2 separate regions of the Homo sapiens genome follow, and region 1 is linked to region 2. Evidence: promoter capture Hi-C in 16 types of primary human blood cells and fetal thymus (Javierre and others, 2016). All regions are on one chromosome and are shown on one strand. The core of a region is centred on a gene start or on the middle of the fragment in contact, and the rest is flanking DNA. Distances in the headings are between cores, read along the strand shown. Region 1 has its middle 83 kb from the start of RNF38. Region 2 holds the start of NFX1 (nuclear transcription factor, X-box binding 1).

The links. Contacts are between HindIII fragments. The CHiCAGO score rates a contact against its expected background, and 5 or more counts as called.
Region 1: a contact is called between a fragment that was not itself captured here and the fragment with the promoter of NFX1 in region 2, in 1 of 17 cell types (monocytes). The highest score is 5.0, in monocytes.

What each region holds. Positions count from the first base shown.
Region 1 is chr9:36,480,455-36,485,392 of GRCh38, forward strand. It overlaps a transcript of RNF38 not described here. Among named protein-coding and RNA genes, the nearest start is that of RNF38, 83 kb to the left of the region's middle. RefSeq lists a silencer at 2,114-2,293. The HindIII fragment of the contact is 6,165 bases long and covers 1-4,938 here.
Region 2 is chr9:33,288,629-33,293,554 of GRCh38, forward strand. It overlaps NFX1 (nuclear transcription factor, X-box binding 1), which reads left to right and starts at 1,888. Exons shown (of 24, transcript NM_002504.6): 1 at 1,888-1,969. The coding sequence starts at 1,945. It also overlaps the pseudogene LOC100862682. RefSeq lists enhancers at 1-778, 1,484-1,903, 1,914-1,963, 1,933-3,132, 2,114-2,163. The HindIII fragment of the contact is 6,050 bases long and covers 1-4,385 here.

The DNA.
Region 1 (4,938 bases), core at 653-3,152, 3.2 Mb after region 2:
CAACTTTTCAACTCCAAGAACATCCCAAAAGCACTACAAATTGTCCTACTACCTAACTGCTTGCTATTCTATGTATACAGTTTTTTTCTTTTTCTTTTTTTTTTTTTTTTTTTTTGAGACAGGGTCTCACTCTGTTCCCCAGGCTGGAGGGCAGTGGCACCATCTCAACTCACTGCAATCTCCGCCTCCCAGGCTCAAGCGATTCTCGTGCCTCAGCCTCTCAAGCAGCTGAAATTACAGGCAAGTGCCACCACACCCAGCTAATTTTTGTATTTTTAGTAAAGACAGGGTTTCACCATGTTGCCCAGGCTGGTCTCAAACTCGAGCTCAAGTTATCCACCCGCCTTGGCCTCCCAAAGTGCTGGGATTACAGGGGTGAGCCGCCACGCCCGGCCCCTTCCATGTATATATTTGGTCCTCTTACTACTACTTCCCTACATTTCTCAACAAAGTCAAAGGATCAGTATATACACCAAAACTCACAATATCTCACTCTCTTATTTCTATACATATTTTACCACAAAAGCAGAAAATGCAGTGATAGCTTTTTTTCTTCTCTTTCTTTTTTTTTTTTTTTTGAGACAGAGTCTTGCTCTGTCACCCAGGCTGGAGTGCAATGGTGCAATCTCGGCTCATTGCAACCTCCGCCTCCTGGGTTCAAGCGATTCTCCTGCTTCAGCCTCTCAAGTAGCTGAGATTACACGTGCGTGCCACCACGCCCAGCTAATTTTTGTATTTTTAGTAGAGGCAGGGTTTCACCATGTTGGTCAGGCTGGTCTCAAACTCCTGAGCTCAGGTGATCCACCCGCCTCGACCTCCCAAAGTGCTGGGATTACAGGCATGAGCCACCACACCAGCTAGTGATAGCTTTTGATAGCGTAACTATTGATAAACCCCAATATACTCCCATCATTCTACTCTTCCACCTGTCCAACATCACTGCAGTTAACTGTTCTCAGCAGTCCCAAGAACAGCGCTAATATCCATTTAAGTAGAACAGGAAAAAAACTGAAACCAGTCTGGGTAAGGCCTGCAGGTAAGAATTGTTTATTTCCCTTCTGTGGGCAAAAGACCACTTTTGTTAAACATCTTTAGTTTTTTAACATATAATTTCTTTCAAAAAATTACTCCAAGACAGCAGCATAAGCAAATTGAAACTTCCTATCCCACCACCCTCAATCATGTTTAAAAATAATAATAAAAAAGACAACAGAAACCACTTCAAATGTATCTTTCCCTTGAGCCCCCAGAACAGCATTCATCCACGACAACTGTCCTGAAAAACTCTGCCATTATTTCCAAAAGCAGTAGGAAGTCCGGTCTTGTCCTTGGTTTGTACTCCCCCCTCCTCTCTCTCCAAGAAAAAATGAAACAGCAGGAAGCGTAAACAACCACTTAATGGAAAATACAAATGGGTAAATATTTTCAAAATTAGCTAAAAAGCCTCAGGTCTTCAGGAATGCTAGTGCAGGGGGAAATAGGAAGAGAAAAATAACTGCATTTACCCCTTCAAGTGAGCACTGTAAGAAGACAAGCGCAAATGTGGCACATAGGTACTATACTTTCTCTCCTCCATTTACCAGATACTTTTGTCTTTTTTTTTTTTTTTTTTTTTTGAGACGAAGTTTCGCTCTTGTTGCCCAGGCTGGAGTGCAATGGTGCAATCTCAGCTTACAGCAACCTCTGCCTCCTGGGTTCAAGCGATTCTCCTGCCTCAGCCTCCCAAGTAGCTGGGATTATAGGCATGTGCCACCACGCCTGGCTAATTTTGTATTTTTAGTAGAAACAGGCTTTCTCCACGTTGGCCAGGCTGGTCTCGAACTCCTGACCTCAGGTGATCCGCCCACCTCGGCCTCCCAAAGTGCTGGGATTACAGGTGTGAGCCACTGTGCCCAGACCTTTTTTTTTTTTTTTTTGAGACAGAGTCTCACTCTGTTGCCCAGGCTGGAGTGCAGTGGCGTGATCTCAGCTCACTGCAACCTCCACCTCCCGGGTTCAAGCGATTCTCCTGCCTCAGCCTCCAAAGTAGCTGGGATTACAGGCATGCGCCACCATGCCCAGCTAATTTTTCTATTGTTAGTAGAGACGGGGTTTCACCATGTTGGCCAGGCTGGTCTTGAACTCCTGACCTCAGGTGATCCACCCACCTCGGCCTCCCAAAGTGCTGGGATTATAAGCGTGAGCCACTGCGCCAGGCTGACAGTGGTATTTTCTAAATAGCTTATTCTGTACATATTTCTCCAGCCTCATAACAAAGTTTACTATTTTAAGCTGTGCTCTTTGGTTCAGCTGAGCATGGTGATGAAAAGCCCCTTCCCATGAAAAGTTCACATGGAGAACTCTTGAAGCCCCTAGGGCAAGCACTAACCCAGACCTCATGGTAAAGCCCACAATGCATATGGATGAAACTGTTAGTTACAGCTGGACTGACAGTTCCAAAGCTGCAGAGCAGTGCTAGATCACAGATCACCTTTGCGTGGATTAGAAAAGGTGCCCCTTCTCTGAGTGCACACAGTTCCACACCAGGTACTCATCTTGGTAAGTGGAGTACAGAATAGATTTCCACCCTCACTTGCCACCTGAAACAGGTATCCTTTTGCTGGGTGCAATCTCTATGGTCCTACACAGCAGCACCGTTAAGAAGTGTACCGGCCAGGCACGGCTGTTCACGCGTGTAATCCCAACACTTTGGAAGGCCGAGGCAGGCTGATCACAGAGGTCAGGAGTTTGAGACCAGCCTGGCCAACATGGTGAAACCCCGTCTCTACTAAAAATATGAAAATTATCCGGGCATGGTGGCAGGCACCTGTAATCCCAGCTACTCGAGAGGCTGAGGCAGGAGAATCGCTTGAACCTGGGAGGTGGAGGCTGCAGTGAGCCGAGATTGCGCCACTGCACTCCAGCCTGGGCAACAAGAGCGAAACTCTGTCTCAAAAAAAAAGAAAAGCGTACCTGGGCAATGCTGCACCTCCAAAGTGGGTTTCCAGATAGAGGAACCTTAACAAAGACAAACAGGCACTTCACAAATTTCACTATCAGAAAGCCTCAGATTTGTTAACATAAATTCATTCATAAACACATCAGGACTAAGGAAGAAAGGTCTAGTAGAGAAGGAAAACTAGCAAATTTTGGAGAAAGGACACTCTTCCATCTTGAGGGATAATCAGTTGTCTCCTAAAGACCTTAATCTCTGACCATAGGTTCAGACGGCTGAACCTCAAATGTTGGTCACAAGCTAAAACAATCACTAGCATCTGCAGAGGGATGGATCATCTTTCTCTTAAGACATAATGACATGTTTACCTTTGGGGGTTTTACTTTCTCCAAATTTTCCTTCTCTGCTAGACCCTTTTTGCCCTTACTTTGAAACCACATACAGTTGACACATGTGTTAAAATCTGTAAAACCTGATAAACAACCCTGGTAGGTAGTGGGCCCCTTAGCTAACTCCATGAAAATCAGAGGAATGGACAACCTAGATTAAGAGGGGTATGGCATCCAACCCTATCATTCTTTTATGCTCCACAAAAGAGGTAAAGTATCACGTGGGTCAAAATTCCATCCCAGTCATCCAGGAGTGGGAACAGAGGGGCAGCCTAAGGAAAAGATGAGGACTAGGCTGGGGCAAACCCAAGATAGTGGTTCTCAAACTTTAGTGGGCATCCCAATCTACTGGGGAGTTTTCTCAGAATCAGATGTCTGGGTCCCTCCCTACACCTGATATATCAGAATGTCCTGGAGCACATCTATTTCAACAAAGCTCAAACTGCTGACACAGGTCCAATAGAAAGTTTAGAAATAATGAGAAATCTACCGCAACTATCAGCAGTTCCAAAATAAAAGTCATCCACTGCAAAACTAGGTTTAGCAGGTCAGAAAGGGGCGAAAAAGGATCACCAGCCTGCATGTCTAACAGGCTGCGCTAGGCTGGAGCCTGTAGGAGAGGTCCATTATTATGAAACAAAAACTGTGTTCTATAAACAAAATTTTTGTGTGAGAAATATTTCAAACATCTGAAAAATATTTAGAGTATACTAAATATCTCTATACCCTACACCCAACATTACCAAATCTTAATTTACGATTACCTGATTCAGATTTTTTTTAAGTAATAGGACATTAAAGGTATAAATAAAGCCCTTTTGGGTACCCTTGTGTAATCCCATTCCTCATCTTCTCTTCCCAAAGACAATCATTACACTTAATATGCATAATTTAATACTATCACCACATATGGGCATAGCCACAAACAATATTATTTTTCATGTTTTCAGATTTTACACACGTGAAACGATTCTGTAAGAATTCTTCTGACTTGCTTCCCTGTTCCATATGGTTTTTGAGATTCACCTATTTTAATGAGTGAGGCTAGTTTATTTTTCACAGCTGTAATATTCAACTGTATGGGTCTATCTAAAAATGTATGTATTGGCCGGGCGCGGTGGCTCACGCCTGTAATCCCAGCACTTTGGGAGGCAGAGGCGGGCAGATCACGAGGTCAGGAGATCGAGACCATCCTGGCTAACACGATGAAACCCCGTCTCTACTAAAAATACAAAAAAAAATTAGCCGGGCATGGTGGCGGGCGCCTGTGGTCCCAGCTACTCGGGAGGCTGAGGCAGGAGAATGGTGTGAACCAGGGAGGCGGAGCTTGCAGTGAGGCGAGATCACGCCACTGCACTCCAGCCTGGGTGACAGAGAGACTCCGTCTCAAAACAAACGAACAAACAAATAAATAATAAATAAAAATATATGTAGTCTTCTGTTGGTGGACATTTAAGCTGGAATGAGCATTCTTGTATTTTTTTCATACTTATTTTCTTGAACAAGTGTACAAGGATCTCTTAGGGTATATATACACACACACACCCAGAAATGGACATTTTAGGTAAATGAATATGTCTGCCCACCTTCACACTAAACACCAAATACCACTAC
Region 2 (4,926 bases), core at 638-3,137:
TTTGTTCTCGCCCAGAGTGGGTGGTTTTTTGTTGTTGTTTTAGATTTTCATGTGAAGGCAGAGAGTTTTTTTTCTTTTTTAACTCCCCATCCCCCTATGCGGGGTGTCATTTCACCATCCACATCCTTGTTTGCGTTTCTGGCCCTCGTCCTCCCTGCCTCTCCTCTGCCTCCCCAACCCCCGCCTACCTACTGCTCCCAGGGGTCTCTCCAGGGGCAGGGGGATTTCAGGAGATGGGGTGGGGGCCAGCCCCTACTGGACCCTTGTAATCTGATTTGAAGACCATCCCCCTGATGGGACCAGCAGCCCCGCTGGCCCACTGGGGGTCCCTCTTAACATCTGCTTGTTGTGGGGGTCAGTGCCACGGTCTGCTGGGGTCTTGGCACTGTCTTCCTGGCCGGGGCCTGGCACCTTAGCCCCCAGCCGGCCCGAGTGGGGGATATCGACACCCCCAGCTAAAGCACAAGCACCTTAGTCATCCCTCCTCTCCCCCTGCCTCCTGGCCTGCCACCCCACCCCAGCGTTTACCCCAAAGCACAATGCCCTGGTCACTTGGCAAGTGGCTGGGCCTGACGGAGGCCAAGGGGCAGACCGGGGCTCCAGCCAGACCCCCGAAAGGAAGCAGGTGCTCCCCCACTTCCAGGACTTAGTTGGGGCGGGGGGCCCAGCTCCTGGGCCTAGGGTCTTCTCACCCCCACCCCCTTGTCCTGGGTAGGCCCCTGCCTGCCCCTCTCTGCCTTTTCCTCGGGTGTCCCTCCTCGAGCCCCTGCGGCACTGGCTTGGGTGGCAGAGCCCACTTGTTTCAGGGACCCCAGGAGGTGGTGCCCCCTGGCTCCTGGGACTGTGTGTGGGTCTGGGGGGTGGGGGGGTGGGGAGAAGCGTCGGGCAGGGGGTGCAGGGGAGGAAACTCCTCACCAGGAAAGCCAAAGACAGGGTTGTGCCTTACCTCAGGAGCCACCCGTTCCCCCTTGCCCTGCCGTTCACCCTCCACCTTTCCCCCCGGGCGGCCTGCTGCTTTTTCCTTCTCTTCCTCCCCTGCCCTGCCCTGAGCTGCATGGTTCCCCTACCCTGGGAAGCCAGGAAGGAATCTGAATGGAGAATCACCAACCACCAAAGAAAAAAAGACTGCGGGGCCCTCCCCTGCCAACTCCCCTTCCCTGGCCGCCCACTCACCCACACCTCTTTCACGCAGGACAGGCTGCCCACCCTGTCCACGTGAAGTGCCAACGCCCTCCCCACCCTGGGCCGAGCCCCCACCCCTCCCTGGGCCCCCAAGTGAGATTGCACATTTAACTACTGTAAGGAGAGGAGCGGCGTTGGCAAATGTGAACCATGAGAATATCGGTGATACTGATGAGAATAAACGCCTTTGTAAAAAAAAAAAAAAAAAAAAAAGTCTGGAGCCAGGCGTGGTGGCTCGCCTGTAAGCCAAGCACTTTAGGAGGCCAAAGCGGCAGGATCGCTTGAGGCCAGGAGTTGGAGAGACTAGCCTGGGCAACATGGCGAAACCCGTCTCTACTAAAAATAGCTGCGCATGGTGGCTCCGCCTGTAGTTCCAGCTACCGGAAGGCTGAGGCGGGAGGATTAGAGACTGAAGCTATAGTGAGCCATGATCAGACCACTGCACTCAAGCCTGGGTAAGGCAGCAAGACCCTATATCAAAAAATAAAAAAAGGAAAACCACAATGATTACGCAAGTCGCCGCCCTCCCTCCTGCGATTGTTGCTATTTCCATCCAGCTACTAGTCTCCTCCTCCCGCCCGACACCTGGCGCGTCTATCTGACGTCACGAACGCGCCACACAGATTCGGGCTGCGCAACCTCTGTGGCCGTCTACACGGCGCGCAGATGCGAATATTCTCGCGGCGCCGGAAGTCCGGGGCACGTGACCTGGTGACAGTGCTGACTTGGCTGTACAGCTCGATCTAGGTTCTGCGGCACGGGATGGCGGAGGCGCCTCCTGTCTCAGGTATTGTCCCGGCCCGAGCGGGACTGGGCCCCTTTCAGGGAGCGGAAATTGGGTCAGTGACGAAGTTCTAGGGCCTCAGCCACTCATATCGCGAGAGTAGCACATGCTAGGGCGTAGGATAGTGGCTCGGAAGGGCCAAGCCCCGCGCATCGTGCGTACGAAGATCTGTGTCTTCTTGGACTAGATGGTGAAGCCCAGTAGCTGGGTTTCGGAGGAGAGAGGACTTGTCCCGGCGCTGCGAGTCGATGTGGGTGCCCTGCCTTCCCACAGGCTGTTTCTGGGGCAGCGGCGCACTGACCTTCGACAGGCGGGCGTCGGCCAGGTCACAGCCAGTGACGGTGGCGGGCTCTTGACGTGTAGGGTGTGGTGTGCTCATACCGCCTGGAGTGGTGGCGTGGGCGCGAGCCGAATTCCAGTAGTTTAGAGTCTCAGCCTGCTGCGAACCCCGTGTGACTCAGTCTCAGTCTCCTCATCTGTCAGTTGGGAGTAGATAAGTTAATTCCTGTGATGGCTCCCGCCCTGTACTGTACCTATTCTGTAATTGTTCACTCACTCCCCCTCCTGGAGTTGCCTCAGTGTGTAGAGACAGCCTCATTTGTTCGTTGATATAACATCCATTTCCTCAGGGTGTTCCATAGATCAGTGTTTTCCAAATGTGTTGGACAGCAACCAAAAGAAACATTTTGCATCGCGACCTTAAATATTGTACACTTACATAAATATAAAAGCGAACCAGAAGTTTCTGGAAGCAGTGAGGTTGGTTGGTTTGTTTTACAATCAGCAATATATTCTGTTTTCTGTTTCGTTTAAAAATATGTCACAGCCCACTGCCTTCATTTGATTTTATGGCCCACTCTGGAAAACAGGGCAGCAGTTTGCAGAATGGAGTTTGGAAACCATTGGTTTGAATCTCAGCTCTGTCCCTGACCAGCCGTTGGGGCACCAAGAAGACCATATATGTATTTGTATACTGGGTGGCAGGTAAAATGTATTTATTACTATGGTTCTTAGTTTAAAAAGTTAGGGCCGGGCGTGGTGGCTCACGCCTGTAATCCTAGCACTTTGGGAGGCCGAGGTGGACGGATCACGAGGTCAGGAGATCGAGACCATCCTGGCTAACACGGTGAAACCCCGTCTCTACTAAAAATACAAAAAATTAGCTGGGCATGGTGGCACGCGCCTGTAGTCCCAGCTACTCCGGAGGCTGAGGCAAGAGAATTGCTTGAACCCTGGAGGCGGAAGTTGCAGTGAGCCAAGATCGTGCCACTGCACTCCAGCCTGGGCGACAGAGTGTGACTTCGTCTCAAAAAAAAAAGTTGGAAAACACACTGCATTGGTGTACCCTAGTCTTGATGTGGATATTAAGTCTTCCTTGGGGTTGGAAAACTTTTTGGGCTGGGTATTTTGTTATTCTCCTCACCTAGTCCTTCACCAGATTCTCTAAACTGGATCTATTGATCGTCTCATCCACAGGCTCGTTTCTGACTCATTTCTGTACCCTTCAGTGTTTGAAGAAGAATTCGGTGGGGCCTAGTTGTGAGTCTTCGTGTTGAACTTTGGTGTTGTGCCCAAGTTATTACCTCCAACCCAGAAAGTATCTAATGAGGCAAAATCTTCTAGTCCAAAGACCTCCTTACTCCTTTTCATGTGCTTTAGTTTGATTTTGCTTTAGTTCCCATTCCATGTTCGTATTTTAGCATCATCTTTAGCCCACACCCTCATCATCAAAGTCTTTAAACAGAAGCCCAGTGCAGAGGATACTTTTCTGCCGGTGAGCAGACTCTGCAATGCCAGCCTTGTCTCTGGACTTTGTAATCTGCCAGTTGGATTTCCCTTTAGTCTGCCTTTCCCACCTGTTGGACACCTACTGTGCTGCTGTGTTATCTTGGATTTAGGGTACCACTTGTATTCTAGCCGTGGTGACTAGACATCCTGTTTACTAACTTCCAGCTACTTGAAATAGTGAAATAAAAATGGTGCCTCTGATCTTTGCCATGGCCAGTTTCCTGATCAATGTGTCCTGTTTCCCTTCCTCATGTCTCTTATGGGTTTTTTTCCTGAGGGCTTTGCCTGCTGCCTCATGTCTAGTTGAACATATCCTGTATATGAGTACATGCAGCCTTCTCTGGATTCTCTAGTTGCATCAACTCATTACTGCTTAACGAGAAACACTCTTTTCCTATCCTTTACTAGGCTTCTCTAGACATCTTTACTGATCTTATTTCTGCCCCTCTTTCCAGTCTCGCTTTTTCAAGCAAGCGAGAACTACACAATACCCACTGGTCCAATTTAACCATTCCAACCTTTAAATTATCTTATGTTTCCAGAATACCTCTGCCACCCTCTGCATTTGTCTAATCCTTTTGTGATTTTGTGAGGCCCTCCATCCCATCCCCTAGAATTCTGCCTATGTGAAAGCTTTCAGGACAAATCCTGAATTGGGTGAGAGGTTACTCTATGACCTTTATGATCATTCCATTTTTCACTGTATGTTTCTATGGTACCCACTGCCCAAGCTCTGTTAGTGTAAGAGCGCAGTCTCTAATACACAAACTGAGTTGGAACCCCGAGTCTTCCTTGGAATTCCTCTGTGGCCTTGGGCAAGTTCCTACTCTCTGTGCTTCAGTTTTCTCATCAGGAATGTAAGGATTAAATGAGTTAATACATGTAAAGTGCTTAGGATAGTGCCTGGCACATAATACCTAATAAATGTTAGGCCTTATTATTAAACCTGAAACCCTCAGGCTCTATACTGCACCCATCAATGCTCAAGCCTGTGTGTTTCAGATCCTCTGTAGTCCTAACAGCAATGATAGAGTACCATTTTAACCATTTTGTGTGTGTTATTAACTTGCTTTACTCTTCACTGCAACTCTTTGATATAGAGGTTGTTACTATCTTCATTACATGTAAGGAAAATGGGGCTAAGTAACTTTCCTGAAGTTAAAATAAGTGAT